Regions from separate parts of the Homo sapiens genome. Here regions 1, 2, 3, 4 and 5 are each linked to region 6. Evidence: promoter capture Hi-C in 16 types of primary human blood cells and fetal thymus (Javierre and others, 2016). All regions are on one chromosome and are shown on one strand. The core of a region is centred on a gene start or on the middle of the fragment in contact, and the rest is flanking DNA. Distances in the headings are between cores, read along the strand shown. Region 1 overlaps CPEB1 (cytoplasmic polyadenylation element binding protein 1). Region 2 has its middle 37 kb from the start of WHAMM. Region 3 overlaps HOMER2 (homer scaffold protein 2). Region 4 overlaps HOMER2 (homer scaffold protein 2). Region 5 has its middle 2.5 kb from the start of HOMER2. Region 6 holds the start of AP3B2 (adaptor related protein complex 3 subunit beta 2).

Region 1 (4,683 bases), core at 57-2,556, 160 kb before region 6:
AAACACACCCAGCACAAACAGCTTCAGGTCTCAGGCCTGCCCTGGGTAGTAACTGCCCAAACCCCTCTCATATACCCCAGAGTAAGGGCATAAACCAGCCAACTCACCTTCTTTGTGAACTTGGTGGTTTTGATCTCCACAAAAGCAGCGCTGACTGCTTTCAGGTAACTCCGTTGGTTATTGAAAGTCACACGACCAGAACCTAGGACAACAGACACAAGCTTCCCTTCTAACCAAATTCTCCCAAATGCTACTTTTTTTTTTTTTTTTTTTTTTTTTGAGATGGAGTCTCGCTCTTTCGCCCAGGCTGGTGTGCAGTGGCGCAATCTCTGCTCACTGCAAGCTCTGCCTCCCGGTTTCACGCCATTCTCCTGCCTCAGCCTCCCGAGTAGCTGGGACTACAGGCATCTGCCACCACACCCAGCTAATTTTTTGTATTTTTAGTAGAGATCGGGTTTCACCATTAGCCAGCATGGTCTTGATCTCCTGACCTTGTGACCCGCCCGCCTCAGCCTCCCAAAGTGCTGGGATTACAGGCGTGAGCCACCGAGCCTGCCCTAATGCTACTCTTTTAAAATGCAGGAAACCCTTTACGATACTAGTGCTGTCCGACAGAAATATAATGTGAGCTACTATGTAACTTTATTTATTTTTTGAGACAGGGTCTCCCTCTGTCACTCAGGCTGGAGTGTAATGGCGTGATCTCAGCTCACTGCAACCTCTGCATCCCAGGCTCAAACAATCTCCTGCCTCAGCCTCCCAAGTAGCTGGGACTACAAGCATGAGCCACCATGCCTGGCTAATTTTTGTATTTTTTTGTAGAGACAGGGTTTCACCATATTGTCCAGGCTGGTCTTGAACTCCTGGACTCAAACGATCTGCCCCACCTCGGCCTCCCAAAGTGCCAGGATTATAGGTATAAGCCATCATGGTCAGCCCTTATGTAACTTTAAATTTTCTAGTAGTCACACTGAAATTTTAAAACAGTGGTGACATTAATTTTAATAATATATTTTATTGGCCGGGCACGGTGGCTCACACCTGTAAACCCAGTGCTTTGGGAGGCCAAGGTGGGCGGATCATGAGGTCAAGAGATGGAGACCATCCTGGCTAACATGGTGAAACCCCGTCTCTACTAAAAATACAAAAATTAGCTGAGCGTGGTGGCGCACACCTGTAGTCCCAGCTACTCAGGAGGCTGAGGCAGGAGAATCACTTGAACCCAGGAGGCAGAGGTTGCAGTGAGCTGAGATAGCACCACTGCACTCCAGCACGGCAACAGAGTGAGACTCCATCTCAAAAAAAAAATTTTATTTAACCCTATATGTTAATAATATTATTTCCAAATGTGACAACAGCTGTGTTTCCAAAACTCAATGGGGCCACATTTAGCTGGTAGCTACCATATTCGTACCATATTTGACAGTGGAGATCATGTTAGCGTGAACCATTCAGGAATGGGGGAAGAATTTGCAGATCAAGATGGGAAGGAAAGATAAGGGACTCCTTCAGTGCAGGTAGAGCATAGGTTAAGGTTAAAGGATTCAGAGTGGAAGCCAAGATGCAGATAGAACACTTGTCTGAAGGGTAAGCCCAGCAGTTGAACTGAACCTCTCCTAGCCCTTAGGCACTCTGGAGACCTATTAAGAGAGCTGGAAGAAGCCCCATCCTGCCAAGTTCCTCCTCCGCTCCTGGGGCTTCTGAAGTCCCTGTTCTCAATCTGCTGCACAGTATTGGTGAGTACATGGTGCTCCTTCCTGACCAGATTCAGTGTGGGTGTGAAGACTAAGCATTTGGGGAGGTGGGTTAGCCACATGTTAATCACAGAGGTCAGGCTCTGCTCCACCTCCATACCTCATCATTGACATTTTGCCAGGACTGGCGAATTGACCTCCTTTCTCAGAGGAGCTGATCAAAACCTAGTGGTTAGGCCCACAGACTTCTGAGTTAGGAAAGCACAGGCCACACTCTGTTGCCTGACTCACTCAGAAAGTCCTCCTCCAGCCTGACCTGGTCTCTGACCTTAGACAATGCCAGAGCTTTTCAAGAACTTTTAATAAAAAACTCCAGGCAAGTTCAGAGAATTGCAGCCTTTTCATGAAATAGTACCTGTTGTCTGTTCCAAACTGGTTTCGCTGTGAACTCTGAGCTTCCAACAAAGTTCCTACCTCACTCTCACTTCTTATCACCTCCTGTAGTCTCCAATAGCTTTTTCTCCCACTGCGTGGGAGATGGTGGGTAGAGGGCTAGATACAGAAGGGCCAGTACTCGTGACTTGTCTAGAAAAAGATATTATGGTGCTGGTATATGCTGATCTGCAGACCTGGGTCAGGCCTCTCTCCTCACTCCCATGGGGAAGTATCACAATCTTGGTCTACTCCCAGGGGCCAACCAAGCTTTCGCACACAGAAGTGGGACACTTACCAATGGGATACTTGTGCTTATCTGTGTCAATCCCGGCATACACCACTCCACCAAATAGGTCGTTCAAGATGGCTGCCAGGGCCTCAGCATTTAGCATTCCATGCAGAGCACCGACAAACACCGTCCTGCTGGGGTCAAGCCTCTGAGATGGGCTCCGGACAAAGTTACTGTCGGCTAATACCCAGGGGATCACCTGCACCTGAAAACCACCCAAAGGTGTATCAGCCCTGGCAGAGAGCCACAGAGAGAGAGGTGCTTGCACGGCAAGGTACGTGCTCTGGAGATACTGAAGCTAAGCTAACGCCCTTACAGGGGTGAAAAGGTGCTGTTGCCCAATCTCAGGCACACAGGCGTCCAATAAACCACCCTGACTCCACCCCAACTGGAGTTGAATTTTACTGAGTCCATGTGTCCAGAATGGTAGAAGTGGACACAGTACTCACTCATGCTGGAGAGTAAGCAAAAAAGTACCACATGGCCAAACCCAGGAGCCCAGCATTCTATTTCAACCTCCAACTGTGTAGTTCCAACAAAGGGCTGTGGACACTGATGAAAAGGGCATAATCTGAAGTCCTCAAGAAAGGAAGGACTCACAGAGAAATTAAAGGCTAGGATCCTGAAGGACAGAGGGGTGGGAGTGCTTACGATATTTGTATGAGATGGTTACTGGCCCAACCTAGCCTTCAGAGGGTTTGTGCCAGAGCAGTGGAAATGACTGGCGAGAGGTTGGGTAGAAAGTCACATACAAGATCCCTGGAGTCTTAAAGGGCTGGGGCTGACCATGTCCTTTGCCTCTGAATCTCCTGAACCTGGAACAAAACCTTGTAGAGCAGGTGGAGGAGTCCAGAATGAAGTGAAGATCTAAAAATATGTCTTGAAGCAGGAAGAGATCTGAGGCAGAAACCAGCAAGGAGGCAAAAACAGTAGTTTCAAAGGACAGGTGATTAAGACTTGGACAAGGCTGGTGGCAACGAGCAGAGAACAGGCCAAGACCAAAGAGATTCTTCAACAGAAGAGTCTGCAGTACTCAGACAGCATAAGCAGGATGGGCAAGCAAGGAAGAATCAGGCCTGGTAGGTGCTGGGCCTACACGGTCTTGGGATGAGAGGACCTGGCAGAAGTTACAAGAGGGGAGCCAATTTCACTGGAAGATGAAAAAGCCAATTTTGCCCACAAAAGAGTTTGGGATTACAGGACATCCCGAAGAAGGATCCCACAGGAAGGTGAGGCTCAGGTAGGACATGAGGCTAGAAAGGTGAATCTGGGTCTAAAGGTGAGAGAAGCCACAAAGTGAGTCATTTATCTGAACTAGAAAAGAAGAAGGGAGTCAAAGATTGGCTATATTGGCTATGTTGGTGCTGGCGGGGAGAGGAACACAAAGGAAAAAGAAAAGTAGAGAGGAAGGAGAACTGCATCAGCCTATAGCCAGTGAATCAAAGAAAGATTAAATCCCTGTAAGGTGATGGGAGGGAATGGGAGACAGGATGGTGTCTACAGGGGCACTGAGGAGGAAGGGGAAGGGCTCTGTGATATGCATATGGCCATCTCTGGTTGTGAAAGCAGGAGGGGAGGAAAAAGGAGCATGTTAATTAAGTCCTAGAACATACTAAGGTGGGAAGACTACACAAGCTCCAGAGAATAAAGAAGCAGAGAAGGTAGGGAAGCTGTGGGTCACTGTGGGCAGCCAGAGGATGAGCCTGCCCTCTCTCTAACACAGAACAAGAGCCAGCTTTGTTACATGGATTTATTTTAAATCTAATGTGACCATCCCAATAAAATAGGCATTTCTCCTCTTACCCTATAGATTTTTTTAGAGAAGCTTTAAGGTTTACAGTAAATCTGAGCAGAAAGTACAGGGATTCTCCAAATACTCTCTGCCCCCACACTTGCGTGACTTCCCCACTATCAGGATCCCGCATGAGAGTGGAACATTTTTTTATACTGACCCATCATCCCCACCGAAAGTCCATGGTTTGCATCAGAGTTCACTCCTGGTGTTTCTTTTACCTTCTATGGGTTTGGACCAAAGTATAATGACATGTATCCACCATATACAGAATAGTTTCACTGCCCTAAAAATCCTCTGTGCTATGTCTCTTCATCCCTTCCTGCTAAACCCCTGGCAACCACTGATCTTTTTTACTAAAATAGGCATTTTAGTTTCCCATCTTATAGAAGAGAAGAGGAAACAAAGTTTCAGAGATATTAAATATCTAGTCCAATGTCACAAAAGTTGTGTGCTCTCAAATCCGATTTTAC
Region 2 (4,673 bases), core at 1,156-3,655, 140 kb after region 6:
TATGTTATGCTGCAGTTAACCAATTAACCCTGAAACCCCAGTGTTTAACACCTAAGGTTTATTTTTTTTATTCATGCTACCCGTCCATGCAGGGTGGCAGGTGAGGGTAACATGAAGGGAGAAGGGGGCTGCTCCACGTAGTCACTCAGGGATCCAGGCTTGACAGAGGCTCTGTCCCTGGGACATCAGCATTTGCTGAGGGAAGGGAAGGCAGACACTGCGGAACTGCTCATGGGCATTTCAGTGTCTGTCTGGAGCTTCATGTGTCACCTGTGCTCACATTTCATTGGCCAGAATTAGTCATAGGACCCTGAATGAGTACAAGGGGGATGGAGGGTGAAGTCCTGTATGCCTCAGAAGGAAAGGAGCCGCAGATAGGGAGGCGCGTACTTTTGAGCCAGTGATAACTTCAGAAAATTACCCTAAGTCAATATTCTGAAAAGTTCGCAAGGATGTTAGAAGAACTTCATTATGTCCTTGACTACAACAGTAAAAAAATTGGAAACAACCTAAGTATCCAAGGTACAACCTACATAGAGGTTAAAAATAATGTAATTACATATTTACTGATATAGAAATCTATTCACAATATAGCATTAAAAGGGATAAAAGTTATAAAACAGTATGTATAATATGATTATATTTCATGGAAAAAGTAATAAAACACACACAGATGCATAGAAAAAAGTCTGAAAAGATAAAAACTGAAATGTTAACAGTGGTTATAATCAGATAGTGTAATAACAGGTGATTGGTTTTTTTCCCACTCATCTGGAATTTCTTTAAAAAAAGTATTATATTATTTATGTACCAAGAAAGCATTTAAAAAGGGAAACAAAAAACAGTACTCTTGGGAGAGTTCACTTATCCACTCCACTCTTCTCATTAAACTCTTATATTTGATGCAAGGAATGTCTTCTTGCCTGTCACATCATAAGACGCTGCTCTCACAACTGACGTAAAGTCGGGACTTCCTATTAAAAGCAGTACAAGAGGGTAAAAACAATAGCACAGCCTCACAGCTGTGAATCATCAGTCCTGCCCATCACTCGCCAAAACATGCACCACTTGGGACTCTGCCGTGGTTTACGGGCTCCTGCCAGGTGCCCTGGGGGTCTCTAGGGCCCAGGAGAACACTTTGCCGCAAGGCTCTGCACCGTCAAAGAGAGTAGGGCACTGAACAATTCCACTTCAAACAAAAGATCCACAAACTTCTGGTAAATGGATTCCAGAACATAGATCACCACCACCAGAAATAGAAAATAAAGTCTCCTCTTAGGTATACATATTTTTAATTAAAAACGCTTCCTTACTGTTTCTCCCACTTCCCCTTTTGCTGTTTCTTCACACACACACACACACACACACACACACACACACACACACACGCGTGCGCACATACACAGTCGTAAGTTCACTAGAACATTTCATCCAGCTCAAAATTCTTACCAAAGCCACCTTCCTGCCTGGGTAGTGTTTAAAGCCAACTAGAAAACCCATATTCTTGAGATCGGTACATGGAAGAGGCATGTAAGTAACATTTTCTAGACTAGACAGGAGTCCCTCTCCATGCCAAAACCCCCATCATCTCCAGAATATATACTGTTTCTTTGGGGAAGCCATGTACTCAGAAATTAGGGTCCTTTTAAAGCATGCATATCTTTAAAAATATACATGGACATTGATCTTGCAAGCTTCTAGTTTGCAAGTGCTTCAAAATCTAGTGATGTCTCAAGGCAATGAAAGAATTTAGCTTCTAGAAGGATGAATGGAACAAACAATCCACTTCTGGATATTAGCAAAGACCAGTGGCTGCCTCTTTTGAGTGCCTGTGCTAAGTCACATCACGTCTGCCTTCTTCCCAAAGGTGCACCTGGCCACATGTGAGGTCCCACCATAACGTCCCCAGCGCGTCCTGTGGTTGGCTCTCATCCAAAATTGTCCCTGGTTTCTATAGAGAAGGAGACTTTTCTAAAGAAAAAGAGCCCTGTTAAAATAGGCAGAGCATGATGTTTCTGGGAGGCATATTCACTGTATTACGCTCCACCCTTTACTTGATGTTTTGCATCAAATGTAGTCCACAGCAGGCAGGCGCCTGCCCACCACCATCAAGGCTGTGCTCATGGAGCCTGCAGGCTGGAGACCAACTGCCCTCTGTGCACAGTCTTCCTGGGTGTTGATCAGGTCCCGTTCAAGCTGCTCCCACCACTGAGCAAGGCTGCTCCCTCCCCAGAAAGCCAGAAAGGAGTGCATCTCCAGGAAGGGGCGGGCAGTGGACAGGCCACCCCCAGCCAGAACTCTGTTTCCATTCCTGCGATCTCAGGGCCTCCCACTTGTTTTGAACATACTGCTCTGCCTCCACTAAAGCCATCAATAAAGAACTCAGGGTGTGTTTGTTTTCCATAGAACTGGCCTCACAGGCAGAGACATCATTTTAACCAACTTTCTTGGAAAGATTCCTGCAAAACCAGAATCATTCCAAAGTGGAACTTATCATTTATAACAAACATTCCTAAATGTCATTCGGATTCACATTTTTGTAAACTGTCCTTTGCTGTGGACACATATTGAAATAATATAATTGTAATATGCTCTTATCAGGATATAAGAATTATTTTCTCTTGGCACCCACGGGTCACCAAAGGGACTAGAGTGGCATGTCTCAAAAGATACTGCATCAAGGTCCAGGAGACCTGGATGCAGAGTCCACGCTGCTGGTCACCGCTGGGTGACCCTGGGCGTGTCACTTTCTCTGTCTCTACTTCCCATCTGCAAAATGCAGGTGACAGTCTCTGCCCTGTTCTCTCACCCAATTAAAGTCTAATGTGATGGCAGGCAGGAGAGATGAAACTGAGGGGCCACACAAGTTCGAGGTCTTGTGTGGATACTGGTTCTCTTTCCCTCCAAGGCCTGACCATACTGTCCCAACCTGTTGCTCTGGTGGTTTTACATTCCCCGGGCGGCACTAGGAAGGCTTCCTCGCCACTCCCAACTTTAAAATGCATCCAGCTGGGTCTTGACTGGAATGAAAGGTTATTTTTAAAGGTCCTCTTGGTTAAAGGGTTCCAAGTTTTAGTTGATCTTTTTTAGACACCAGGTTTCATGGAGGCAGAAGGAAAGCTTATCAAGGTATAGCAGCCAGTCTTGGAAACACCAAAATCAGGAGACCTCAATTGCAAACTGAAAATGCAGTCCTGGCCCTGCAGCTTCCAGGCAGCACAAGCGGCTGCGATGCTCACGAGTGAATGGCTTACATTCTGCCTGAGTCTGGCGTAAGGTTATGACAACAGTACTGAGACTGGGCTGGATGTCAGAATAAACGAGGGCACGTCACACCAGCTCAAGGGAACACCGTCCAGGTTGCTCCAGGGCCACTATTTTAAAAGAAAGTAAATGAAAAGACACTGAGATCTTCAGAGAAAAGCAGAAGGAATGGAAAGTTCAGTGCTTTTGTAAAAGCTGTTGTGCTTTCACGGCCAAGCCCAACTTACCTTTCCCTTTAAGGGAGTCCTTACTACTCTTAGCTCCAGGGTTGCAACAGCTGTAGAGCTGGACACACAGCAGGAGGAATCCAAGTTCCTCACCTGCTGCCCACAGGATGCTCACCACACTCTTCAGTGCTTGGTGAACTGGGATCATGGGTCTCAACTGCACAGCAGCCCACTGTGGAAATGGCTCTTCCAACATTTTCTACACCTCCACTTCTGGAGTTTTCTAAAGTCACTGCTATCAGAATGTACAAGTGGCTTCAGTAACTATTCTATGCATGTCACCTGAGCATTCTCTTGTCAGTCAAGCGGGCTCTTTCTAGATTCATAAGTCACCTGATAAAGGCAGAGGTCATCTGAAGACCCCAGCGGAAGGTGTTTGGAACCCAGTGTCCACTGCTCCCAGGCAGCCACACACCCAGCCTGCTGCTGGGCAGACCAGGCTGGCTTGAGAATCCCCTTATCCCGCTGCTGGGCCACGGGGCTGACTCATAGCCAGCTCGGCTCTCTGGTCTCCTGGTGCAGCCAGGAGGGAGCTGCTACCAACTGTCCTGAGAGCCGTCTGGAGCTCTGGGGAAAGGGAAGGGCCAGCAGCAGACTACCCCGAATCACAAAGATGGCTGGCCACGCTTTCCACTTCCTGTCTGCCAAAAGCCCTATGTACTCAACCAAAGCCCCCACTCACCTTGCGGGAGCTCCTCTAAAAGTGCCTTGGTGCTCCAGATGCCCAGCCTTCCCTTCCATCCACATCCCAAACAAGACTCCCCAGCTCAGAGAGGCGTCTCCGTGAGGGGAAGGGAAGGAGAGCAGGAGGACTCGTGTTCACCTTGGGGCCCAGGGCACCTGGGTTCGGACCCCATCTCCCTCCTTCCTCGGGTTGTTTGCTCATTAATCCAAATTCAGCAGGGAGAAAGTCTAACCACGTCCATGGGAGAAGGTTTCTAGAAGGAGTAGTCCTCTTAGGTGGTTCTCAAAGGGGTGAGGGGGCACCAAAGCCTCCCCCCTGCTCAAGGCATTTAGAGATGTGTGGGGCCAGGGATTCAAGCCATTATTGCCACACACGGGCAATCTCCCAGGGCAGGATGCCAACAGCACCCACAGGCCCGCTGGCCCCACTGAGCAGCTCTGTGAGAGAGGAGAGGTTTATGGCTGCAGTCCCTTCCCTAGGAGAAACTGAAAAAGGCA
Region 3 (4,547 bases), core at 1,370-3,869, 160 kb after region 6:
GTACCTAGGAAGTAACTTGTTTTTTATTTTACTGGCTCATAGGCAGAAGGGACTTGCCTTGTCTCAGATGAGACCGGACTGTGGACTTTTGAGTTAATGCTGAAATGAGTTAAGACCTTGGGAGACTGTTGGGAAGGCATGACTGGTTTTGAAATGTGATGACATGAGATTTGGGAGGGGATGGAAAGATATGGTTTGACTCTGTGTCCCCAACCAAATCTCATCTTGAATTGTAACTCCCACAATTCCCACATGTCATGGGAAGAACCTGGTGGGAGTAACTGAATCATCGGGGCGGGTCTCTCCTGTGCTGTTCTTATGATAGTGAATAAGTCTCAGGAGATCTGATGGTTTTAAAAATGAGAGTTTCCTCCCATAAGCTCTTTTCTCTCATCTCCTGCCATGTGAGACATGCTCTCCACCTTCCGCCATGATTGTGAGGCCTTCCCAGCCACGTGGAACTGTAAGTCCAATAAGCCTGTTTCTTTTGTAAATTGCCCAGTCTTGAGTATATCTTTATCAGCAGCGTGAAAATGGACTAATATACCCTATCAGATACATTTTAAATAAATAATCATTTTTAAAGGTGTGGTATTAGTAGATGCATGATGGAACAGAACAAACAGGTGAGAAATGGGCCTCAACTTTTATATAAAAAATTAGCTTATGACTAAGGGGGAAACAGAAATTAATGAGGAAGATTATTCAACATATAATTGAGATAACTTTAGTAAATTGAGAGAAATGAATTTAAATCCCACAAACCTGTAGCATGATAAATTATTGATGAGTTAAAGGGGCAAGAAAAAGAAAATCAAACTTTAAAAAATCAGGATGCTTCTGAAGAAAAAAAAATTCTGGATGCAAACAGAACTGAGCATGTATCAAGCTTCTGCTTGAGAGGTGGGTGGATAATTTTCTAAACTTGGAAGAAATTTCTTAAAACCCACAAAAGTGACAGACTTCACTACATAATAATTTAAAGCTTTTGAATATAAAAGGAAAAAAAAAAAAAACTAAACCAGAAGGGAAACAACAGCCTTGGGAAAATATCTATAGCTAAGCTAGTACAACAGAAAAAGGGCTATTTTCTTTAGTATGGCAAGAGTTTGTACAAACTGAAAAGTATGACAAGCCCAGTAAATAAATGGCAAAATTCAGGAATAAAAAATGCAGTAACAGCTTATAGAAAACACCATTCAGCCTTGTTGGAAATGTAAATCAAAATAACGAGGTACCATTGTTTGCCTGTGAAATGAGCAAACACTAAAGACAATTAGATTCCCTGTGCTGGCAAGATATTTCTGGTAGTGTTGTGTATTGGTGCAGCCCCACTGAGAAACTATTTGGAAATATGTCTTGTTAGTGAAAAAAACATTCATACCTACTGACCCAGTGATACTGCTTCTGGGAAACCATTCTGCCAAAATAATTGAGAATATGGGGGGAAAAAAGGCCCTCAATACCAAGATGTTAATTCCAGCATTGTCTACAAATATGGAACACTGGAAACAACCCAGTGGGCCCTAGGAGAATGATAGAGAGAAACTTCCTCTCAAAGCCTCCAACTAGCAGAAGAAAACTGCCAGTCATGAGAGCCGCCTAGTAATTGTCCTTTGGTGAAAAATCGCCTCCCTCCAAGTCTTGCATTTTCTAATATTTCCCCCTTATTCTTAAAAAAATATATATATATGCTTGTAAATTTGGAAAATACAATTTAGAAAAAAATATTTTTTTCATATGATTGTTGGCTGCATGTATGTCTTCTTTTGAAAAGTGTCTGTTCATGTCCTTTGCCCACTTTTTAATGGTTTTTTTATTGTTGTTGTTGTAAATTTAAGTTCCTTATAGATGCTGGATATTAGACCTTTGCCAGATGCACAGTTTGCAAAAATGTTCTCCCATTCTGTAGGTTGTCTGTTTACTCTTTTGATAGTCTCTTTTGCTGTACAGAAGCTCTTTAGGTTAATTAGATCCCATTTGTCACTTATAAGTAGGAGCTAAATGATGAGAACACATGGACATATAGAGAAGAACAACACACACAGAAGCCTACTGGAGGGTGGAGGGTGGAGGGTAGGAGGAGGGAGATGATCTGGAAAAATATATATTTTTTAACTTTTAAGTTACATAAGTTATATATATCACTTATTTATTTTATATATATATATATATATTTTTTTTTTTTTTTTTCCCCTTTTGAGACTGAATCTTACTGTATCTCCCAGGCTGGAGTGCAGTGGTACGATCTTGGCTCACTGCAACGTCCACCTCCCAGGCTCAGGTGATTCTCCTGCCTCAGCCTCCTACTGAGTAGCTGGGATTACAGGCATGCGCCACCACGCCCGGCTAATTTTGTATTTTTAGTAGAGACGGGGCTTCACCATGTTGGCCAGGCTAGTCTCAAACTCCTGACCTCAGGTGATTCGCCTGTCTTGGCCTCCCAAAGTGCTAGGATTAGAGGCATGAGCCACTGCGCTCAGCTATATATATATATATATATTTAGACCTACAGTCCCATTGAGGTAGGAGGCAGGACTCAACTCTGGACTAGACGGAAGACTGGTTAATGGGCTCACCAGAGCCATGACAGTTTACTCATTCCCTGGCAATGACCTAGAAGTTACCACACTTTTTTTGGAAATGTTTGAATAACCTGCCCCTTAATTTGCATGTAATTAAAAGTAGGTATAAATGCGACCACAGAACTGCCGCATAGCTGCTCCTCTCGACACACTGCCTACAGGGTATCCCTGCTTTGCAGGAGCAGCCACAGGGCTGTAACACTGCCACCTCAATAAAGCTGTTTTCTTCTACCACCAACTCACCCCATAATTCCCTCCCAGGCAAAGCCAAGAACCTTCCCAGGTGGAGCCCCAATTTATGAGCTCCCCTGCCCTGCAACACCATCATCCAAGATAAGAACAAACCACATAATCTTCTGATATTTTTCTGTCTGTATATTTGCATTCATTACCTACATTTCTTTTAAAATAGATTATATATCTCATTTTATGGCCTCTTTTGAAATAAACAATATGATATTAATACTTCCATGCAATTATATGATTTTCTACTAAACATCTTTTTTTTTTTTTTTTTTTTTTTTTTGAGACAGAGTCTCACTCTGTTACCCAGGCTGGAGTGCAGTGGCGTGATCTTGCTCACTGCAACCTCTGCCTCCCGCGTTCAAGTGATTATCCTGTTGCAGCCTCCCAAGTAGCTGGGATTACAGACGCCTGCCACCACACCTAGCTAATTTTTGTATTTTTAGAGGAGACAGGGTTTCACAATGTTGGCCAGGCTGGTCTCGAACTCTTGACCTCAGGTGATCCACCCGCCTGGGTCTCCCAAAATGCTCCGATTACAGGCATGAGCCATCACGCCCAGCCTCTATTACACATCTTGATCGCTACATATTACCCTGAAGGATACACTGCAGTTTAACCAATTTCCTAGTACTGGATGTTAGGGCTTTTAAATTTTTTTTATGTTATAAATGATGCTGCAATCTTTGTACTGATATCCTTATACTCAGTTACAATTGTTTCCTTAGAATAGATTCTTGTCAATGAAATCCATGGATCAAAGGATATTCAAATTGCAAAGGTTTCCGAAATGTATTGCAAAATTCTCACATCTTCATTAAGGTCATTTTTTGGTACTTATTAAAATTGTGGTAATAATTTTAAACAAAATCATTATCATGATAGAAAATGAAACCATTACTGTTTGATTTCATTTGTGGCTTCTTTTGGCCTTAGCCATTGAAGACCTGAAGCAAACACTACTGTTTGTTTATTCAAAATCTGTTTCTTTTCCCGTAGCTTAACAGAGTCTCAAGTTTTTCTGGAGCAGGAAATTTCCTAGGTGCTAGAGAATGAAAGCTAGTCTAAGCCAATCATGGAAATCCGTTTCCCTGGTTTTTGGTGGGGTAGGGGAATGGGCTAGGGACCCAGCATTGATAATGGGGCCCCAGAAGTCTGCCAGGGGGGTTGCTGTGGTACCAGCCTCTTCCTCCTCCCTCTCGCCAAGAATGCAGGTGTGATGGGTAGAGCTTTAGAAGCCATCTTATCACCACAAAGGAAAGGCCGATAAAAGAAAAAAGAAACAAATGAAATCCATGCAGATTGTCAGACCCAACATCATGGAGCCACTGTACTAGCAACCACCTGCCTCAGGACTTCTTCACATGAGAGGAAATTATCCCATGTATTTAAGCACGGTGATTAGGTTACCTGTTACTTGCAGCCAAAAGCTTTCTACCTAAAACATGTCAAAATAATTATTAATATCCTCCATTTTAAACATTAGCTGTTAAATCAGGACCCAGAAAGGGAGGAGATAAAACAATGTTCTTACGATACTGAGTGAATAAAGTGACTACATGGGGACAAATTTGAATTACAGATGAAATCACTGAAGTGGGTCAAAAGCAAATGCCATGCACGTATCGGGGTTTGGCCAGATCAACCATGGTGCACTGGCAACGCCATCCTGGGTCGCTCCCCATTAAGGGCAGAATATGTTTCCTTCTGCCTGTAATG
Region 4 (4,145 bases), core at 939-3,438, 220 kb after region 6:
GTGAGCAATGTGGGCTTTGGGGAGCTTACAACCCTGCTGTGTGTCAAGATTAGTATCAATACAGCCGATCATAGACCCAGCCTAACAGGCTTAACTTATTTGAGATTTAGATTCCTACCACGTAATCTGAATAATGCCTTCATAGAAGTGATCGTAATATACAATCCAACAGGATCAAAGAACTAAATCATTCTGAGAAACTCTGCTGAAACCTGAGAAAAAGGACCAGGGAGAAGCTGGGAGATAGATGGATGAGAAAGGGAAGACAAGGAAAACGGCTTAGCAGGTTCTGAGCAAAAGAAATCCATAGGAGGCCAGGCACGGTGGCTCACGCCCGTAATCCCAGCACTTTGGGAGGTCAAGGCGGGTGGAACACCTGAGGTCAGGAGTTCAAGACCAGCCTGCCCAACATGGAGAAACCCCGTCTCTACTAAAAATACAAAAATTAGCCAGGTGTAGTGGTACACACCTGTAATCCCAGCTACTTGGGAGGCTGAGGCAAGAGAATCACTTGAACCCAGGAGGCGGAGATTGCAGTGAGCCGAGATCGCGTCACTGCACACTCCAGCCTGGGTGACAGAGTGAGACTATCAAAAAAAAAAAAAAAAAAAAAATCAAAGGAAGCCTCGGCTACTAGCCTCCACCCTGTTACAGGTATGCTAACACAGTTTTGTTGTTTTTTTTTTGAGACGGAGTTTCGCTCTTGTTGCCCAGGCTGAAGTGTAGGGGCAGGATCTTGGCTCACCTCAACCTCCGCCTGCTGGGCTCAAGTGATTCTCCTACCTCAGCCTCCCGAGTAGCTGGGATTACAGGCATGTGCCACCACGCCTGGCTAATTTTGTATTTTTAGTAGAGATGGGGCTTCTCCATGTTGGTCAGGCTGGTCTTGAACTCCGACCTCCAGTGATCCGTCCGCCTCGGCCTCCCAAAGTGCTGGGATTACAGGCGTGAGCCACCACGCCCGGCCTAACACAGCTTTTCTGAGGCACATCTCTGCTTTTGGTTTTAGACTTCAAGTTGTACTCTTGAAATAAAGGCTGTTTTTCTCATGGAACTATAAAAGTCTCACAAAATGTGACCCTCTGGGTGACTTCCCTCAGGGTCGGACCACACACATAACCACCAACTTCACTCTGTGTGCTGGCTGTGTGACCTTAACCAAGTCACTCCACCTCTCTCAACTCTAGTTTATCCATAAAATGTGAAGCTCAAATGAAATACCGTATAAAGGGAGTCAATAAGTATTAGTTACCCCGGCAGAACTCACTCTTCCACAGAAACCATGTAAGATACCACAAGGACCGCCTGGCATGACCTGACGTCTGTACAGCATGCCATCCTGCAGCCTCAGAGGTAAGCGTCCGGTGCAATCACAGAGTGCACAGACAGCCAGGAAGCAGCTCTGAGATGCCATCACTGCCCCTGAAGGGAGGGTCTTCTGCCTGAAGATAAAGTAGCCTTTTCCCTGCACAGATTCTCCAGAAGTTTCCACCAAGTGTACAGAGAAACCACTGCCAATACTATAGTTGTTGGGAGGATACAGACTTGGGCCTGGCCCACAGTCATCCCACATGGACAGTCATGTGGCAGTGGAGGGGCAAATTAAGGCCAGCTAAGAATTCACTGTTTGTCTGATACAAACAGCTGATGGATGCAGCTTTTCAGCAGAAAACTTGCATTCTGGCTGGGTGTGGTGGCTCATGCCTGTAATCCAAGAACTTTGGGAGGCCGAGGAGGGTAGATCACTTGAGGTCTGGAGTTTGAGACCAGCCTGGCCAACATAATGAAACCCCGTCTCTACTAAAAATACCAAAGTTAGTCGGGTGTGGTGGCGGGCACCTGTAATCCCAGCTACTTGGGGGGGCTGAGGCAGGAGACTCACTTGAACCCGGGAGGCGGAGGTTGCAGTGTGCCCTGTGCACCTCCTGCCCTGTGCACACCCCGCCTATGAGAGGTGCTCTTGGGCTCCCTCAGTTGCCCATACAGAGCCAAGATCTAGCCACTGCACTCTAGCCTGGACGACAGAACAAGACACTGTATCAAAAAAAAAAAAAAAGCTTGCATTCTACCACATGCCACCTTCATCCTCTTTTATGACATTTCCAGGGTTATGCCAATTTCACCAAATGCCTAAAAGGCAGTATTTGAAGCTGTACCAATTTTTGCTATGAGGACAACTTCGTCCAGCACCCACAGAGCTCTGCCCTTGAGAGACAGGCCCCCTGGGGCCACAGTGTGACCAGCCTGGGCTGACACTGCCATTCTTAGTGTACTCCACTTAATTATTTAAGGCATGAGGCATTGTTTCCTTCTCAAGGCAAAGCTTTCAGAACATTTAAAATTCATGGGAGAAGCCAAGGAGTAGCTTTTTTTAGCTCCCTCCCTTGAAGCCAGTGATATGGCTTTCAATCAGGCTGTGGGATTCCAATTCCAGTTTTTCAGAATATTTCATCCTTGGTGAAGCATGCCTGCTTTAAAAAAAAAAAAAAAAAAAAGGCCAGGTGCGGTGGCTCATGCCTATAATCCCAGCACTTTGGGAGGCCGAGGCAGGCAGATCACGAGGTCAGGAGATCGAGACCATCCTGGCTAACACGGTGAAACCCCGTCTCTACTAAAAATACAAAAAATTAGTTGGGTGTGGTGGCATGCACCTGTAGTCCCAGCTACTCAGAAGACTGACGCAGGAGAATCGCTTGAACCCAAAAGGCAGAGGTTGCCATGAGCCGAGATCGCGCCACTGCACTCCAGCATGGGCGACAGAGCGAGACTCCGTCTCAAAAAACAAAACAAAACAAAACAAAACAAAACTGACAGAAGAAAAAGAGAGGACACTCTCACAAAGTCAAACTCAATTAACCAGCAGTTCTGTCTCACAGGAGTCACTTTAAATTTACTGAATCTGATTCTGTTAGTGCCAAAGAAAGACAGGAGCCCTAACCATCACTAGGAACACACTGGGTGAGGGGAAGACAGGACTTTCTACTACGAGATAAAGCTGTGCTCAAACCCAGGCCTGGGGGGCCTAATTCAGCACTCTTCTCACCCAACTCCATCCATATTATGGAAGACAGCCCAATGCTAGAGACCATCTAGGTGGGCAAGCAAAGGCCTATGCAGGAGAGCTCATTCCCGAGTAAGATGTAGGGAAGAGGGCCGGGCGTGGTGGCTCACGCCTGTAATCCCAGCACTTTGGGAGGCCAAGGAAGGTGGATCACTTGAGGTCAGGAGTTTGCGACTAGCATGGCCAACATGGCAAAACCCTGTCTCTGCTAAAATCACAAAAATCAGCCAGGCATGGTGGTGCGCACCTGTAGTCCCAGCTACTTGGGAGGCTCAGGCAGGAGAATCGCTTGAACCTGGGAGCTGGAGGTTGCAGTGAGCCAAGATCACACCACTGCACTCCAGCCTGAGCCTGGGCAACACAGCAAGACTCTGTCTCAAAAAAAAAAAAGAAAAAAGAAAAAAAAAGACCTGGGGAAGAGCTACCCACCACACCCCAAGGCAATGCCATACGGAACAGTATTCTCACACCACAGAGGAGTAATTGAGGCCCCAAGACAAGCTGATGGTGCACTCCCTAAGATGAGAATTAATGCGCTGCCTCCTGAGCCACACCCCTGAGCCTCCACAAGGGCTTCATCACTCCCGCAAAGCTCGGCCCTCAAGACACTCTCTCTGAGGATGAGGAAAACCCAGCAATGTTCAAAGCTGTTTACTCCTCAGAACAAGGTTTGGACAAAGCTTTTGGCGGCATCACAGGCCTTCTCCTCCTGCCTCCTGCCCTGTGCACACCCCAACTGTGAGAGGTGCTCTTAGGCTCCCTCAGATGCCCACACAGAGCCAAAGCTGGGCTCCCTCCCACCGATCTGAACCCCACTGGGTGGGTCCACATAGAGCAAGCTCCCCACCACAAACGGCAGCTGGTAATCTACAGGGGGGCGGCTCTCTCCTCCCCGTGCCCTCACTGTCAGCTCAAGTTGTCCCTTCTCTAGGCTAAGTATGCCCAAGTCCTTTAAACAGGTGGTGCTAATCTCCTTTGGATCAAGGACCCCTTTGAAAATCTGATAAAAAAAAAAAAAACTATGGACACCCTCCCCAGACAAGCACACACTTATCTACAACTCTCCATAGGATGGGCAGGGGTG
Region 5 (4,079 bases), core at 1,541-4,040, 250 kb after region 6:
CCCGGCCGAGTGGCCTTAAGGTACCCGCCACCGTGAAATTTCGGAAGCCAGCCTGGCAGAGAAGAGCCTACAGGCCGCGGCAGATGCTCTGGGCTCTTTCCTGGATAAAAATGAGATGAGGGCTCCCACTTGAAGGGGCAGTTTTAAGGCGGCTTCATCAAGCTTGGTTTTATCCTTAGAGCGAGGGGAATTAGGATGGCAAAAGTAGAACTTGAAGAAGAGCAGGCTCTCTTCGTCGCCTTTCTACCTATCAGGTCCTGAGTTTCTACCAAAGGCTGGCACTGGGACTAACCTAACCTTCATCCCCCGGGACTTCCACGGGATCATCTTCTGCTGGGAACACACCGCCCACATAAGCCTGGCATCTCAGGACAGTAAAAAAGTCAAGGGACAGGTCGGGCGCGGTGGCTCACGCCTGTAATCCCAGCACTTTGGGAGGCCGAGGCGGGCGAATCACGAGGTCTGGAGATCGAGGCCATCCTGGCTAACACGGTGAAACCCCGTCTCTACTAAAAATACACACACACAAAAAAAATTAGCCGGGCGTGGAGACAGGCGCCTGTAGTCCCAGCTACTCCGGAGGCTGACGCACAAGAATCGCGTGAACCTGGAAGGCGGATCTTGTAGTGAGCCGAGATCGCACCACTGCACTCCAGCCTGGGCAACAGAGCGAGACTCCGTCTCAAAAAATAAATAAATTAATTAATTAAATACATAAATAGCCGGGTGTGGTGGCGTGCTCCTGTAGTCCCAGCTACTCCCAGCTACTCGGGAGGCTTGATGCAGGAGAATCGCTTGAACCCAGGAGGCAGGGGTTGCAGCGAGCCGAGATCATGCCACTGCACTCTAGCCTGGTGAAAAGAGCCAGACTGTCTCAAAAAAATAAATAAATAAATACAAAATAAGTTTGTAAAAAATAAAATAATCTTGGGAGTTTCCAAATCCTCCATGCATAGTAATCAGCAATATCAGGAAAGTGAGCTTGTAGAACACTGAACAAGTCATTTATCAGGTAATACCTGAGGATTCTGAAGTGTTCGAATAACTTCAAAGGCAAGCCACTGAAATCAGAGTTTTTCATTTTTATTTTATTTTTATTATTTTTTTTTTGAGACGGAGTCTCACTCTGCTCACCCAGGCTAGAGTGCAGTGGCAGTGGCGTGATCTCGGCTCACTGCAACCCCCACCTCCCAGATTCAAGCGATTCTACTGCCTCAGCCTCCCCAGTAGCTGCGACTGCAGGCGCATGCCACCACGCCCAGTTTTTTTTTTTTTTTGTATTTTTAGTAGAGACAGGGTTTCACCATGTTTCGATCTCCTGACCTCGTGATCCACCCGCCTCGGCCTCCCAAAGGGCTGGGACTACAGGCATGAGCCACCGTGCCTGGCCGAGTTTTTCATTTTTTTAAACTACAATCCACAGTAAGAAATATATTTTACACTACAACCTGCAACCTGGTACATACTTCAGCACATACATACTATGTCTATAGGTATATCGATATAAAATAGAAACAAAAAGTTATATAAAACAATGTTTATCCTCTCACTTGCCAGGCAGGCATTCAGACATCATTCTGTTTTGTTGTTGTTGTTGTTGAGACAGAGTGTTGCTCTGTCACCAGGCTGGAGTGCAGTGGCATGATCTCAGGGCACCACAACCTCCGCCTCCCAGGTTCAAGCGATTCTCCTGCCTCAGCCTCCCAAGTAGCTGGGACTACAGGCGCGCACCACCACCCCAGCTAATTTTTGTATTTTTAGTAGAGACAGGATTTCACCATGTTGGCCAGGATGGTCTCCATCTCTTGACCTCGTGATCGGCCCACCTCAGCCTCCCAAAGTGCTGGGATTACAGGCGTGTGCCACCGTGCCCGGCCCATTCTGTTCTATTTTTAAAAGCAGTACTGCTCATAACCTACTAAATTGATTTCAAAACCTATAATCTACGTATTTTTACTTTCTTTTTCTTTTTCTTTTTTTTTTTTTTTTGAGACGGAGTCTCACTCTGTTGCCCAGGCTGGAGTGCAGTGGCGCAATCTTGGCTCACTGCAACTTCTGCCTCCTGGGTTCATGCAATTCTCCTGCCTCAGCCTCCCGAGTAGCTGGGGCTACAAGCGCATGCCACCACACCTGGCTACTTTTTTGTAGTTTTAGTAGAGATGGGGTTTCACCATGTTAGCTAGGATGGTCTCGATCTCCAGACCTTGTGATCCGCCTGCCTCGGCCTCCCAAAGTGCTGGGATTATAGGCGTGAGCCACCATGCCCGGCCTGTATTTTTACTTTCAACAGCAAAATTAGGCTCACCATGTACATGCATAATGTTGTTATTAGTGTGCTCAGATTTCTGGTATGGCTGGTCCAGGGACTTCAAACATTTTTTTTTCTAACCATAAAAGGTCAGTTCTTTCAACTGCATATGAAACAAATGTATTATTAAAGCCATTAATTAAAGGGATAACTGTCGGGTATTATGCAGCTATTACATTATATTTGTGAAGCCTATATAGTAACATAGAAATATATTTATTCTTTCAATAAATGTTGATCACCTGCTGTGTATCTGGTACTGTGTTGGGCATAAAGTGCTCAGCAAAACAGACGTCCTTCTGTCATAGGACTATAAGATTGTGTGAATGGTATTAATCAAATAATCACACAAATATATAAGCTACGATCTGTGTGAATAGGAGACCTAATTTAGGTTGAGGAGGATGGTCAGGAATGGCCTGTTGAAGAGACATTTAAAAAGAGGCCTGATGGCTGGGTGTGGTGGCTCATGACTGTAGTCCCAGCACTTTGGGAGGCCAAGGCAGGCAGATCACTTGAGGCCAGGAGTTCAAGACCAGCCTGGCCAACATGGCAAAACCCCATCTTTACTAAAAATACAAAACCTAGCCAGGCATGGTGGTACATGCCTGTAATCCCAGCTAATTAGGAGGCTGAGGCAGGAGAATCACTTGAACTCAGGAGGCAGAGGTTGCAGTGAGCTGAGATTGCATCACTGCACTCCAGCCTGGGTGACAGATTGAGACTCCATCTCAAAAAAAAAAAAAAAAAAGAAGAGGCTTGAAGACAAAGAAGCATCAGTCATGGGGAGCATGAGGGGAGGGTTCCAAGCAGAGGAAACTGCAACGGCCCTGAGGTGGTAGAGAATCATGCTGTTCTGAAGAGCTGGGAGAAGGCCAGTGTGGTTAGAGTGCAGTGAGCTTAGCAAAGCATGGGTGAAGTATGCAGGGCCCTTTGGCTGGATTAAGGATTTGCAATTTATTCAAATGCAGTGAGAACCCACTGATGGGTTGGGGAATGCCGTGATCTGGTTTATATTGTTAAAATATCACTCACTCCTGGGAGAAGAGGGGATAAGAAGGGGACAAGAGTAAAACATGGAGACTGGTTAAGAGGCTCTAGACAAAAGATAAGGGTGGAGATGAAGGGAAGTGGATTACAGATTATAGATATTTTAGAGGTAGACTCAATAAGACTTGGTGGATGGGATGTGTATTAGGATATAAAGTTAAGTTTGTAAAATAATCTGAATTACAGCTGTGCTATGAGTATAATTATGTAAAATTAGAAAATATGGACAAGGCCTGGAGTATAGAAAATGAAAAAGTTTATTAGGATGGCAGAAGGAATATAGGGTAAAGGCATCAGTATTAGACTCAGACCTGCATTAAGTCCTGGATCTACCATTGACTATCTGTGACCACGGGCAAGTTTTTAACTTCTCTGAGCCTCAGCGCTCTAATCTACGAAGTGGCGATATCTCTTTGGACTATTAAGAAGAGTGAATGAGAACAGGTGTGGTGGCACACACCTGTAATCCTAGCACTTTGGGAGGCTGAGCCGGGTAGATCACCTGAGGTCAGGAGTTCAAGACCAGCCTGACCAACATGGTGAAACCCTGTCTCTACTGAAAATATAAAAATTAGCTGGGCATGGTGGCACATGCCTGTAATCCCAGCTACTCGGGAGGCTGAGGCAGGAGAATCACTTGAACCCAGGAGGCAGAGGTTGCAGTGAGCCAAGATACTGTGTCACTGCACTCTAGCACGGGCAACAGAAGTGAGACTCCGTC
Region 6 (4,587 bases), core at 1,859-4,358:
CCGCTAGCCTGCCTCTTAGAACCTCTCATTTCCTTTCCATTGTGGAAATCTATCCTCAAGGAAATCACTTCTCAGTGTTCCATCTGCTATTCTACTACTCCTCAGGGATTGTTCAGGCCCCCTCCCTTCCCTACACATCAAGCCTGGGGATTTGCCTCTGCCCAGGACTGGCAAATTGACTTTACTCACATGCCCCGAGTCAGGAAACTAAAATACGTCTTGGTCTGGGTAGATACTTTCACTGGATGGGTAGAGGCCTTTCCCACAGGGTCTGAGAAGGCCACTGCGGTCATTTCTTCCCTTCTGTCAGACATAATTCCTCAGTTTGGCCTTCCCGCCTCTATATAGTCCAATAACAGACCAGCCTTTACTGGTCAAATCACCCAAGCAGTTTCTCAGGCTCCTGGTATTCAGTGAAACCTTCATACCCCTTACCATCCTCAATCTTCAGAAAAGGTAGAACGGACTAATGGTCTTTTAAAAACACACCTCACCAAGCTCAGCCACCAACTTAAAAAGGACTGACAATACTTTTACCACTTGCCCTTCTCAGAATTTGGGCCTGTCCTCGGAATGCTGCAGGGTACAGCCCATTCAAGCTCCTGTATAGATGCTCCTTTTTATTAGGCCCCAGTCTCATTCCAGACACCAGACCAACTTGGACTGTGCCCCAGAAAACTTGTCATCCCTACTATCTTCTGACTAGTCATACTCCTATTCACCATACTCAACTACTCATACATGCCCTGCTCTTGTTTACACTGCCGGTTTACACTGTTTCTCCAAACCATTACAGCTGATATCTCCTGGTGCTATCCCCAAACTGCCAGTCTTAACTCCCTCTTAAAGTAAATAAATAATCTTTGCTGGCAGGGCTATGCTGAACCTCCTTGGGCACTCTCTAATTGGATGTCCTGGGTCCTCCCAATTCTTAGTCCTTTAATACCTGTTTTTCTCCTTCTCTTATTCCATTTAGTTTTTCAATTCATACAAAACCGTATCCAGGCCATCACCAATAATCCTATACAACAAATGTTTCTTCTAACAACCCCACAATATCATCCCTTACCACAGAATCTGCCTTCAGCTTAATCTCTCCCACTCTAGGTTCCCACGCCACCCCAATCCCGCTCGAAGCAGCCCTTCAAGGCTATGGAGAAGCAGTATCTCTCCATACCACCCCCCGCCAAAATGTTTGCTGCCCCAACACTTCAACACTATTTTATGTTATTTTTCTTATTAATAAAAGAAGACAGGAATGTCAGGCCTCTGAGCCCAAGCTAAGCCATGATATCCCCTGTGACCTGCACGTATACATCCAGATGGCCTGAAGTAACTGAAGAGTGAAAATGGCCTGTGCCTGCCTTAACTGATGACATTATCTTGTGAAATTCCTTCTCCTGGCTCATCCTGGCTCAAAAGCTCCCCCACTGAGCACCTTGTGTCCCCCCACCGCCAGAGAACAACCCCCTTTGACTGTAATTTTCCACTACCTACCCAAATCCTGTAAAACGGTCCCACCCCATTTCCCTTCGCTGACTCTTTTTTCGGACTCAGCTGGCCTGCACCCAAGTGATTAAAAAGCTTTATTGTTCAAAGCCTGTTTGGTGGTCTCTTCACATGGACGTGCGTGAAAATCCTCATCTTCTCCCCCTGTCCCTCTAAACCCCCACCCAATATCCAATTAATCATCAGGTCTGAGGCTTCCACCTCTTCCACAGCCTCAAATCTTCTGCCTCTCCCCTGGTCTAGGCCACAATCATGCCAGGCCTGTGAACTTCAAGACCCACCTCCCTTGTCTCTTGTTCAATCTGGCCCACCTCCAATCTCTTCTCCACAATGCAGCAGCCTGACGTCCTTCTAAAATATAAATCTGATTATGTCGCCTGCTTAGAATCCTTCAGGAGTCCTCCCCACCCTCTTTTCTGGTCAGTCCAGTGGCTCACACAGATTGTGGCCTGGCTCTCAACCTTCCTGAAAGCCCTTTCCTCTGCCTGGAACATACCTCACGCTCCTGTCTTCCTTCTCTCCGGCGCCAGAGACTAGGTCCTCTCCCTGCTCCCACTGCCCCCATTACACTCGACTGTCCCTGACTGCTTCTTCATCTGTGCTCCCCTCTAGAGCATCGTGAGGACAAGAAGGGTCTCATGTTCACAGTTGTATTCCGTGACTAGTTCAGGACTCGACACAGTTGGCTTTTCATAAATGCTTGTTGCAGAATTTACGAATAAACAAATGAAGAAACAAACGAACGAATCAAAGGTGGGGGAGGGTGTGAAGGTGGAGCTGAACTACAGGGGCAATGCCAGGAGCAGGGATGTGAGGGTCAGATGGAGATGGGGACCAGAGGGAGGGGAAATGAATTTGCAGCAGGGCCAAGCTGGGAGGCTGTGCAAGTACATCCAGGGCCCGCCTTCCTGAAGAGGCCCCAGGCTCAAGCTCAAGTTCGCTGACTCAGACCCCTCCCCCACATTTTTGGGAAGCCAACCCGCCTAGCACGAAAAAGGAAGGGAACCCCTAACGCAACGCCGCAAACCGGAGAAACACCTGGAACCGGAGGGTTTCTCCTCTCGAAACTGAGCTGGCCCATCCCCCGCCAGCCCCTATCTGCCCCCCTCCGCGTCCTAGGCCGGCCCCTGGAGCCGGGGTGCCAGCGCTGCCCGCGCTGGGCCGGGGCTCCAGGCCGCAGGAGGGGGCCGGGCGGGCTTCCGGTCGGCGCGGCCGGGGCGGGGCCGGCGCTGGGGCCGGGCGCTGTCCATGGTGCCCGCGCGCCTCGCCCGGTCCCCGGCCCCAACCCTCCCGCGAGCTTCCTGGCGGGCTCCCTCACCGCTTGTAGTCGGAGGAGAAGATGCCGCCGCTCGCGGGGTCGTGGCCGTACTCGGGCTCCCCGGGGCCAGCGGAGCCGCCCTTGTCTTCGCTGTAGGCGGGGGCGGCCGACATGGGGCGGCCAGGGAGACTTCGCCGAGGAGGAGGTTGCGGGGCCGGAGGCCGGCTGGAGCGGAGGAAGGGAAGGCGGGCCGGTCCGGTCCGGGCTGGCGAAGGCGGCGGCGCGGCAGGGGTTCAGCAGAGGCTGCAGTGTGCAGCGGCGGAGGCTGCGCGCGGATTTCTCAATCAGGGCCGCGCGCTGAGGTCTTAAAGGCACCGGCGCCAGCCGAGCGGAGGGCGTGTCCGCGAGGAGGCGACAGGGGCGGTGCGTCAGGGCCTGGCCCCGCCCATCCCTAGGAAATGCCCTCTTCAGGGCGTCTTCTGCCCTTTAAAGCGACTTGGCTCGTCTCCAGATCTAAAGGTGGGCGAGTCTGCTGGACGGACGCTGGGACCGTCTTGCAGGGGATGTGGAATAGCTGCCCCCACCCCCGACCACCTGGCCTCGGCGGGACGGGCCTCTGGGGCTCCGCTCTCCCCAGACGCACGCGCGGATGCTCACCCACGCCGTGGAGGGAAAGCGGGAACTGGAAAGAAGGCTGTGCCCGCAGGCTGGGGGTTCTAGAGCGGGAAGGGGTCACCGCACCCGAGGACCGGCCTCAGATACCTAAGGACGCTCCCTTTCCCGCCCCACCTTTCCTACAAAATCTGGCTTGGCAGCAGGAAGCCGAGGAGCTTCCTGGAGGTGGCGGAATTTAAGGAATTAAGGTCAGGGAGCTCCGAGGAGCCCTTGGGGGCTTAGAGAGATGGGAAACAGGATACAGAGGACGGTGAACATCTAATTAAGCTTTGGAAAGTAGTTTAATGAATCTTTCTGAAGCCTCCACGTCCACCCAGGAGGGCCAAGGTCATGCTTAATCCGGGGACACGTCCACGTCCATTGACACCTGAAAAGGAAGAGAAGGGTCTGGTGTGACCACCAGGGCTCCTGAGTCATGTGAGCCCTCCAGTTCAGCTCCCGAGCCCGAGTGACCCCTAGGCCCAAGGAAGGAAGGCTTGGATCCGATGGAAAGTAGTGAATTGGGCTGGGGGAAGAGGTAGGATCCAGTTGGGCATCAGTTGAGGTGGCTGGAGTCTTTTAGCTGGGCATGGGGACTGGAGGAGTTCCTAAGGCCTGAGTCTTGGTCTGTAACTAGCATCCCGAAGTCTCCATGGGCAGAATTGGCGGGCCTACCTGGGAAGGAGTGGGGCCCAGAAAGGTGGAGCTTGGCTCAGTAGAAAAGTTCTATTGGGGGTAATTCTACTGGGGTAAGGTTCTATTGGGGTAATGAGAAGGTTCTGTTGGGATAACCTAGACAAGTGGGTGGGTCCGCTTGGTTCCGGTGGCTTTGTGCCTGCCAGAGAAAAGTGGATCTTGAATTTGGAGAAAACTGGCCTGGGTGGGGAGTGGGAAGAGAAGGGCCTGGATTTTGCAGTTGCGCGTTTATAAGGCGCTTTGGCTAGTCTGCTCAGGAGGTGGGATGGGTCCTGTGCAGGTAGCTGGGCCACGCTCACCGACCTGCTGGAGCTCCCGTCTATTTGCCGGGGGTCCAGGCTGGGACCTGGGACGAGCAGACACAGTGCAAAGTGCACACAGTTGCTGCGCATGGAGTGATAGGATGGTGGGTCCGCGTCCGTCGCTTCGCTCACTCTGCGCAGCACGCGCCAGCAGGAGCGCAGCAGCGG

What was found. The method cuts DNA at HindIII sites, captures the fragments that hold promoters and counts their contacts. A CHiCAGO score of 5 or more calls a contact.
Region 1: a fragment that was not itself captured here is called in contact with the fragment with the promoter of AP3B2 in region 6 in 1 of 17 cell types (M2 macrophages); the score reaches 5.9 in M2 macrophages.
Region 2: a fragment that was not itself captured here is called in contact with the fragment with the promoter of AP3B2 in region 6 in 3 of 17 cell types (total CD8 T cells, naive CD4 T cells and activated CD4 T cells); the score reaches 6.5 in total CD8 T cells.
Region 3: a fragment that was not itself captured here is called in contact with the fragment with the promoter of AP3B2 in region 6 in 1 of 17 cell types (total CD8 T cells); the score reaches 5.1 in total CD8 T cells.
Region 4: a fragment that was not itself captured here is called in contact with the fragment with the promoter of AP3B2 in region 6 in 5 of 17 cell types (total CD8 T cells, naive B cells, erythroblasts and 2 more); the score reaches 6.9 in total CD8 T cells.
Region 5: a contact is called between a fragment that was not itself captured here and the fragment with the promoter of AP3B2 in region 6, in 5 of 17 cell types (non-activated CD4 T cells, naive CD8 T cells, naive CD4 T cells and 2 more). The highest score is 6.5, in non-activated CD4 T cells.

The regions. Positions count from the first base shown.
Region 1 is chr15:82,547,036-82,551,718 of GRCh38, forward strand. CPEB1 (cytoplasmic polyadenylation element binding protein 1) reads right to left here. Exons shown (of 13, transcript NM_001365242.1): 10 at 2,425-2,623; 11 at 108-202. Among named protein-coding and RNA genes, the nearest start is that of RPS17, 8.9 kb to the left of the region's middle. The HindIII fragment of the contact is 2,175 bases long and covers 220-2,394 here.
Region 2 is chr15:82,843,874-82,848,546 of GRCh38, forward strand. It overlaps a transcript of HOMER2 not described here. Among named protein-coding and RNA genes, the nearest start is that of WHAMM, 37 kb to the left of the region's middle. The HindIII fragment of the contact is 1,426 bases long and covers 1,693-3,118 here.
Region 3 is chr15:82,866,366-82,870,912 of GRCh38, forward strand. All of the region lies in intron 3 of HOMER2 (homer scaffold protein 2), which reads right to left. Among named protein-coding and RNA genes, the nearest start is that of WHAMM, 59 kb to the left of the region's middle. The HindIII fragment of the contact is 3,273 bases long and covers 984-4,256 here.
Region 4 is chr15:82,929,062-82,933,206 of GRCh38, forward strand. The region is part of intron 1 of HOMER2 (homer scaffold protein 2); the gene reads right to left. The region is part of intron 4 of LOC105370928 (a long non-coding RNA gene); the gene reads left to right. Among named protein-coding and RNA genes, the nearest start is that of HOMER2, 22 kb to the right of the region's middle. The HindIII fragment of the contact is 266 bases long and covers 2,056-2,321 here.
Region 5 is chr15:82,953,199-82,957,277 of GRCh38, forward strand. It overlaps a transcript of HOMER2 not described here. Among named protein-coding and RNA genes, the nearest start is that of HOMER2, 2.5 kb to the left of the region's middle. The HindIII fragment of the contact is 5,260 bases long and covers 161-4,079 here.
Region 6 is chr15:82,706,767-82,711,353 of GRCh38, forward strand. AP3B2 (adaptor related protein complex 3 subunit beta 2) reads right to left here and starts at 3,109. Exons shown (of 27, transcript NM_001278512.2): 1 at 2,828-3,109. The coding sequence starts at 2,940. It also overlaps the pseudogene LOC338963. RefSeq lists silencers at 2,633-2,892, 3,113-3,162. The HindIII fragment of the contact is 2,125 bases long and covers 1,583-3,707 here.